Regions from separate parts of the Homo sapiens genome. Here all the other regions are linked to region 2. Evidence: promoter capture Hi-C in 16 types of primary human blood cells and fetal thymus (Javierre and others, 2016). All regions are on one chromosome and are shown on one strand. The core of a region is centred on a gene start or on the middle of the fragment in contact, and the rest is flanking DNA. Distances in the headings are between cores, read along the strand shown.

Region 1 (2,700 bases), core at 83-2,582, 690 kb after region 2:
CACTGCACTCCAGCCTGGGCAACAGAGTGAGACTCTGTCCAAAAAAATAATAATAATAATAAAAGAAACAAATGGGTTAATTATTAAAATTAATATTGCTAAAATAAGAAATAAATAAGCCTGTGAATATGATACCCCAAGAACACAATAGCATTCATATTGTTTTCCAGCCAAAAGTTCATACCTGAATCTGACTATGAGAAACCATCAGACAAACCCAAACTGAAAAAATTCTATAAAACAACTGACCTGCCTTCTCCAAAATGTCTTATGAAAGTCAAAGACATTCTTATGAAAGACAAAGAGAGACTGAGGAACGTCCTCTAAAGAGAGTGAAGAGTCATGATAACCAATGATCCGCGACTGATCCTGTCCCAAGAAAGAATGAAATTGCTACAGATGACATTATTGTGACAATTAATGAGATTGGAATATGGGCTGCAGATTAAATAATAGCATATAGCAATTTTAAATTTCCTGAGTTTGATTACTGTATTATTACAACATAAGAAATATTTTTGTCTGTAGGAAATACACATGGAAGAATTAACAGGTAAAGGGGCATGATAAAAGTAACATACTCTCCAATGGGTCAGAAAAAAATGTATCTATACTGAGAAAGAGATAATAAAATAAATATGGCAACATGTTAAAACTTGGTGAATCTGAGCAAGAGGAGTATGGGAGTTCTTTGTACTATTTTTGCAACTTTCTGGTAAGCTTGAATTTTTTAATAAGAAGGAAAAATAAAAAATTTAAAATAACAAATACTTGGGGGTAAAGTATTAAGAAGAATTATTCAAGATCTCTATGAAGAAAACTTTAAAACTCTACTAAGAGACACAAAAGGAGCCTTGAATAACTAAAAAGGCATCATAATGAAGAAATAGCTTCATTAAGATGTCAATTCTCCTTAACTAGGTGCATAAATTTTATACAATTTTGATTGACTTAAACAGCAAGAAATAGCACAAAGTCATTTAAAAAATACTACAGTAGATATTAAAATGTACTATAAAGCCAGTTGAATAATGTTATATGGTAAGGTAGACTGCTCAGTGGACTAATTACAAAGGCAGAAATGCATCCAAATACACATGCACATTTTTGACCCAGCAATTCTTTTTTTTCTTTTTATTTTATTCATTCATTCATTCATTCATTCATTCATTCATTCATTCATTTTTAGATACAGGGTCTTGCTGTGTCACCCAGGCTGGAATGCAGTGATGCAATCATGGCTCACTGCAGCCTTGAACTCCTGGGCTCAAGCAATCCACCCACCTCGGCCTCCCAAAGTGCTGGGATTACAGGCATGTGCCACTGTGCCCAGCCTGACCCAGTAATTCTAATTATTGTATTTTGTCAGGTAGGTAATATTTGCATGTATGGAAAATGACATCTGTACAAAGTCATTCATTACAGCACATTAGTAATACCAAAACATTGAAAATAGCCTTACTGTTCATTAATATGGGACTGATTAAATAATGATCTTCCCACACAAGGGAATTCCATGCATCCAGAAAGGAAAATGAGAATATACTCTATGTACTGATAACAAATGATCTCCTAGATGGAGAGCAAGATATTTAGTACACCATCACTTAATTTTTTAAAGGAAAGGAGGGGAAAATTACAAGTGTCTATATCTCTGTGTCTATATACATTGTGGTTGATAGAAAACAAAGAATGGCAATGGGAATTCAAAATATTACTTTTATTATTGATAAAGCTCATGTCAGAGAACACAACTCAGGTATGCGCCAACAGTAGATTCCCCAGTACTAAACCCAAGAACTAGGCAGTCTCATTCACTTGGGCTGGGCCCCCACAACCCTCCCCATGTGAGGGCCACTCTTGTCCATGCTTAAACATGATTGGAGAGCAAAAAGTCTGTTTGCTGGAGTCACCTTGCTCCAAAAAGGAAGGGCACGAAATAACTAAGCTTCGTGCACCAATTTTTCTGCCACCCTCATCAATCATATAACTCATTATTTTCTGAGGAGAGGAGAAAGGGATGGGGGCCGAGGCCAGGAGAGTTAGGGAAAAAACACTTTTCAGGTAAACCTTGTGGATGAACAAAAGAAGTCCTTCCCCAGCCCCTTCCCCAAGAGAATAGACAAGAAACTGGAAACTCTGAAGGCCTCTGGCAACAGGCACTAGATGACTGGGGGCGTGGACAGAAGGAGGCCATTTACTGGGTTGCCTTTTCCATTTTTGAAATTTTGAACCAGAGGACTCTATTTATATTGAAATATAAATAAAAATATTTCCAAATGATTATGTGCAGATAATTAAGAGCTGTAAGGAAAGAATAAAGGAAAAATATTGAATTCATGTATCATTTGCTTCATGATGAAATGAATGGAATTTTACCTAACTTGATATAATTGGAAAATGTTTCCAAAACACAGGTAACCTACCCAGAAAGTATAGTTGATCCAGCCATGTTTTTGCTCCTTCTGCATGAAATGTATTGTCTGCCCATCAAGAGACCACAGATGGGGGAGCCAGGTGCAATGGCTCATACCTGTAATCCCAACACTTTGGGAAGCCAAGGTGGGAGGATCACTTGAAGACAGGAGTTAGAAACCAGCGTGGACAACATAGGAGATCTTGTCTCCACAAAATATTTTAAAATCAGCTGGGCATGGTGGCACGCACCTGTAGTCCCAACTACTCAGGAGGCTGAGGCAG
Region 2 (2,886 bases), core at 310-2,809:
GACACTCTTCCAAGACAGTAGTTGGGAAAAAAAAAAAAAAAAAAAACAGGAGGAAATGATGTTACATTTTGGAAAGAAGTGTTTCCAAGAATAAAGTGGTCAGTTATGTCAAAATTAAGGATTGCAAAGTGTCACAGGGGGTCATTGTTAGCCATTGTTAGGGGAATTAATGCTTATAATGCCCAACTCCATTAAAATAAAGATAGAATAAGCTGCAAGAATAGTGATACCAGATACTGTGAAGCAGTACAATTCAACATGTGAAACACTGACAGAAGTCAAATTTGTACTCCACCCCAAGAAACCTAAACCTTCCCTTATCTGATCAGTTATGTAACAGAATAATGGATCCTGGCATTTGCTTGAAAATACATAGTGTAGGTATGGGGAAAATGTAGGTTAAGAAAAACTATCATTTGGACGGTATTAAGCTCCAGAAAATCACCAGAATAGAAAAAGTAGAAAGCAAAATTGATGTATTTATTTTTGACTAAGTCACTAACTGCAAACAAACGAGGAGAGCAAATATTATTTAAATTATCCATCCCCACTCCACTGGTCAAAAATATAATTTTTCTTTACAGAATGTGGAGAAAAGGGGCTCCCCTGAAGTGTGTTAAAAGAGATGAGGACGGTCAGAAAAATCTGTCTGAAAAAAAAACGGAACTATCTTTAAATAATACTGCAAAATAGAAATATAAGCTACATCTTAATAAATAAATGTCTCTGGTTAATGGGAGGAAAGATGTGAGGCAGGCAGGATTACAAAGCAACGAGACAGCGGGAGGTAAGGGCACAGGATTTGGAGACTCATATATTATGTCAACACAGCCAGGAAATCAAAATCCTAGACCTAAACTGCACAATCAAAAGTAGGATGTAGACAACTATTGCGGAATCAAAAGTCCTAGCCATATGCTCACCAGCCTTTTGAAATGGGACAAGTGATACTATCAGTCTCATCTGTAAAATAAAAGTATAGTGTTTTCCCTGCCTACTTCATGTTTTGTTATGTTTACAAAATGGTACTATTCCGCTCTATGTTTAACTCACAAGCACGCAGAAGCGGAGCAGGCTGAAGATAGGATGCCTGTCACAGGAGCTCTGCCTCTTCCTACATCTTACCTGTCGCCTGCTGCTTCAGGAAAGGTACCTGGTAGGATCCAGGACCCACATGGGCCTCAGTGCTGCCACCTTCAGCCAATTTGAGCAGGCGGGGAGCCCGATCATACATAGTGCTCGGGGTGGTGGGGGCGCTGGGGAAGGGCAGGTGCCGAAAACGATAAAAACAAGGTAGCTAGAAGTGTGGAGAAAAAGGAAGCCGACACCAGTCTGAGGAGGCCGGGAAAGAACTTCCGTAAACAGGGAAATTAGGGGTGGGGTTGTCTCCCCGCCCGCTCATTGATACCAGATTTCCTCAAATCGATTTCTAGCTCTGTGGTAAAGTAGAGGGGTGAGCGACTAGAGATTAGACGTCCCACACAATCATCAGTTTGCCAGGTGCACGCCACCAAAATTGGGTATTAGGGATTAGACGCTCGCCCCGGTGCTTCCGGCCCTGACTCCGCCCACTTCTCTCCGCCCGGAAGCCTGGGGAGGAGGCGGGCCCAGTCTCTGGGGAGGAGGCGGGCCCAGTCTCTAGGGAGCGAAGTGGAGGTGCCTTCCTGGGCCGAGCCCTCGGAGCATGCGCACCGAGCAGCCACCCTTTCCCGGCTCTTTTTACCCGGAACCCGGCGCGCCTTGAAGAAGGCAGGCCTAAACCTCGTAGCTCTTGGGGTCCCGGTAACTACTTAGGTCCCGAACTTTTTTAAGTATGCAGAAGAACCTTAGAAAACGCGTTAGGAAGGGTGAGGACTAACTTGACCTTGATCTGCTTCCCGACTCAACAGAACCTAGTAAAGAAAAATGCAGTAGCATGAAGCAGAGAGCTTGGGGTTCCGCAAGCTCTCCCCCGCTTCTACTGCAGCCCCACTCGTACTCACAGAGAAAAGGCACCTCTGATCTTAACCTGTAGATAGTCCAAACTGCTAAGACAAACCCAGGGCTCAGGGCAGTGACAAGAAATGGAGAACCCAGAAAAAAAAATAACAAATAAGATAAGGGTAAAAAAGAAAAAAAAAAAAAAAGAAATGAGGACACCAGGCAAGGAGGCGAAAAGCTCACCAACTGAAGCCGTGGAAGTGACTGAAAGCTGCCTCTTTTGTCGTATGCCAGGTAACCACAATACTGATTCATCAATATTTAAAAAGCAAAGCGAAGGCACTGAAAAAGCCCAGTCCACCCCACCAAACCAATGATTCTGAACCTTGGGCAAAAGAAACCTTGCTTGTCCTTGGGGCTTAAGGAATCTATGTCAGAATCCACCTCTGCATCTCGCAGGCTGTTTTTTCTAGCAAGAATTCTGTCCAGATTATAAATATCCTCAGAGGCTTAGACAAATCCTACCTTGATCATACCTCACCTCCAAATGGTCTACAGTACGTTAATTTGTTCCTACTACAAGTTTTTATAGTTTTCATACTCTGTAATACACGATTTGCCACTCAATCCTGTGCAACATTTACTGTGGCTTCATTGTGCCATATAGGTCGGAACCCTCTCCTTGCGAGGCTATATGCTTCTCAAGGATGTATCTGTAGTACCTTTTTTTCTGTTCAATAGCTAGCTAAATTATTTATGCACTTAAAAAACACGAATTGGCATATACTGTAGGTTCCATCCCTGCTAAGTTATGAGGATACAAAGGCATAAGAAAGTCCCTGCCCTCAGGTGTTCTCTCTCTAATGGGGAAAGAGACGTATAATCCAAAACGAGAGGTGGCAAAGATTTTTTTTAATGGTAGGAAAATGAATATTGCAATATTTTGGAAACATCTCACCAACTTCG
Region 3 (2,700 bases), core at 170-2,669, 890 kb after region 2:
TTTAGGTTGTAGGTTGTAGAGATAGGGATGACCTGGATTTTCTTTGCTTAACTGTTGCGGGCTGTGGAGGCTACAGAAAGAGTAAAGAGAAAGTAGTGAAGATTCTAGCTGAGGTTGGAGAAACTGATCTTTCAGAGTCCCTTGGGCAAACCTTTACAGAAGGCAGCTTTAGTGTAATATGATTTGGTTAACTACGTAGTCCTAGGGATTTTTTTTTCCCGTGCTTTTTTTTTCCTTAACTTTCTTCTTGTCCGTGTCTTACTAGTTTTATGTCTACAAAGATAACACATTTGTAAGACTTTGTGAATTCTCTTAGCATTTTTAATAATTTATTTGAGTAACTTTGAACTCTTTGAAGGAGAGGCCATCAACCTCAAAACATAAATAAAGTCTATGTCTGTTTGAATTATTCTTTTCCTTTATTACTTGAGTTCCTTACTTGAATTCAATTAATTACTTGAATTCATTTTCCCAGTTTGCCACTTCTTACTAGTGTCTGAAATATGTTACATGAACATATTTTCCTAAATGAAAAGTCTTTCTAGTTACTCATTAATTCTGATCATTCAGTCAAGCATTCACTGAAACCCTAGCACATGCCAGGCACTCTGCTTGGCTCTGAGCAATAGTGGTAAACTTTGATACCATCCCTTCCCTCACACAGCTTATGGCCTCAGGGCTGTGTCACATAGTAACTACTTACATGGGTGATTTTAGTGTGTGTATGACTGATTGGGAATCTAACTACTGTAAATAAAAGAATCTGCAAAAATTTTCTTGCAGTTTTTTTCCAGTGTATGATTGGTTAATTGTCTAATGATTCTTTTGAAATACTTCGTAATAGTTTGTTGACATAAAATTGAAATATAACTGTGACTATTATATAACATTTAGCCTAATATTCCTTGCTTATTTGAAATAAAGTTTAGGTTGCTTTTTGAAGTGAATATTGAACAGGTGTCATTTCTTAAGCTTTTCCCAAATATTTAATTCGCAAAGTTACAGGTCTTGGTTTTTGCAAATAGTTTACAATAACTCTTGCTTATATACAATATTCCTTAAAATGTTTCTTATTAAGGAAGGCCTGACACTAATTTTCCTTTTTTGTTCTTTTAGGAATGTTTTAAAGGAAGTTGGGCTACTCACAAGTTACTACATAAGAAAGCAAGTAAGTACAATCACAAATTTTTACACCATTTGTCTTAGAAGTGGCATTTGTGCCAGAAAACAAGAATTCTTCTAGTTCTGAAAGTGTATATTTGAATGTTCTGAAAGTATAATCCTGAATACTAGAATTATGACATATTTTAAATTTTTGTGATATGTAAATAAAATATGTCTGGATAATATCTTAATCTTGTATTACATATTTAACATGAAAACATGAGATAGTTGTTAGTATAGATGGATCTTGCTTGAGCCATACCTGATGATGCTGTCATCTTTTGACACACTGTTATGTTGCTGGAAGTGTTTGCATATTGTAGTCAGGGATTATGTGAGTGATTTGGCTTCATTTAACCAGATTCCTTTTGGTTTCTTTTAGTTTCAATTTGTATTGCTTTTTCTACTCAAAACTATATTACTTTGTTTTTTGGTGTTTTAATGTTATTACCTGCAGTCTTATGTTTAATTTTCTTTTTTGAAGTTTTTTGTGTGACACTACAAAGTAAAACTATTAGCTGCTCCTTAGCTATTACTGTCAGCCACACTGATGTAGCTGAGATTCACATTGCCTTTTTTGCTCCAGCTAATTTATCCTGTAAATTCATGTCATTAGCGTGGCTGGTTTAAGACAACCTGTCACAGTTGCCTGAAAGTTGACAAGGGCTTTCTGTTCTATATAGCATTGCCATCCTGATGGATCAAAGCTTGATTTAATTTGAAGTGGGAAATAACATGGTTATTTATTTACATTGTTCTTGGTATAAGGTTTCTGTTTCTACATACCTGATCTTGGTGTCTTATATTCATCTACTTGTGTATTTTTTTTTTAGGAGTTAGCTGATTTAATGAAGTTTGAATGTAGTGTGTTTTTACCAAAACAAATCTAATTGAGGTCAGCCAAACCACCATTTGAAGGAACAGGGAAATACAAATTTTAAAAAGACAAATTTTCTGTAGTTGTATAAAGCGACATCTACATTTAATGGACATGCTAGGCTGTTGTGGGAGAAATGTGGTTAGAGATGAGGAAAAATGATGTGACTCAGTGTAAGTTTATCAACGCATAAAAGATAGGACTTGTTGATTTGTTACCTCTGTCAAAATTTAGAGATGGATTTAAATAATCTCACTTAACTATATTCATTCATGCATTACATACATCCTGTGTTTCTAATGTGTTAGGTATTTTGCAGAGCTCTTTGAGCCAGTTACTAGCATTTTATACCCAGGAAGTTAAAAGCATTGGTAAGTAATAAAGGGTTGAGGTTAAACAATATGTTAGTAAAAAAGCTTAAAATCGGCCTCTCCCTCAGATTTGCTAACTCATTGATGTGTGCCTGTTTCTTCAATACTGGATATTTAGGGGCAGGGCTATTTCCTTTTGACTTACACTACAAGGGAATAAACAGCAAGTGTTCCCTATGTAAAAAGAAGGTGATTATTACAACACTGGATTTAGGCTATTTGCATTTTTACTTACACCTCTAGTGTTTAGTATGGTGCCATCTTGTAGCTATTGCTCTGTTGGATCTT

The links. Contacts are between HindIII fragments. The CHiCAGO score rates a contact against its expected background, and 5 or more counts as called.
Region 1: a contact is called between a fragment that was not itself captured here and the fragment with the promoter of STPG2 in region 2, in 4 of 17 cell types (naive CD4 T cells, total B cells, total CD8 T cells and 1 more). The highest score is 7.5, in naive CD4 T cells.
Region 3: a fragment that was not itself captured here is called in contact with the fragment with the promoter of STPG2 in region 2 in 4 of 17 cell types (total B cells, non-activated CD4 T cells, naive B cells and 1 more); the score reaches 8.6 in total B cells.

What each region holds. Positions count from the first base shown.
Region 1 is chr4:98,830,033-98,832,732 of GRCh38, forward strand. All of the region lies in intron 2 of LOC105377343 (a long non-coding RNA gene), which reads right to left. Among named protein-coding and RNA genes, the nearest start is that of EIF4E, 98 kb to the right of the region's middle. The HindIII fragment of the contact is 1,228 bases long and covers 719-1,946 here.
Region 2 is chr4:98,141,917-98,144,802 of GRCh38, forward strand. It overlaps STPG2 (sperm tail PG-rich repeat containing 2), which reads right to left and starts at 1,560. Exons shown (of 11, transcript NM_174952.3): 1 at 1,126-1,560. The coding sequence starts at 1,234. RefSeq lists an enhancer at 1,287-1,386. The HindIII fragment of the contact is 14,460 bases long and covers 1-2,886 here.
Region 3 is chr4:99,027,751-99,030,450 of GRCh38, forward strand. METAP1 (methionyl aminopeptidase 1) reads left to right here. Exons shown (of 11, transcript NM_015143.3): 2 at 1,117-1,168. Among named protein-coding and RNA genes, the nearest start is that of MIR3684, 32 kb to the left of the region's middle. The HindIII fragment of the contact is 899 bases long and covers 971-1,869 here.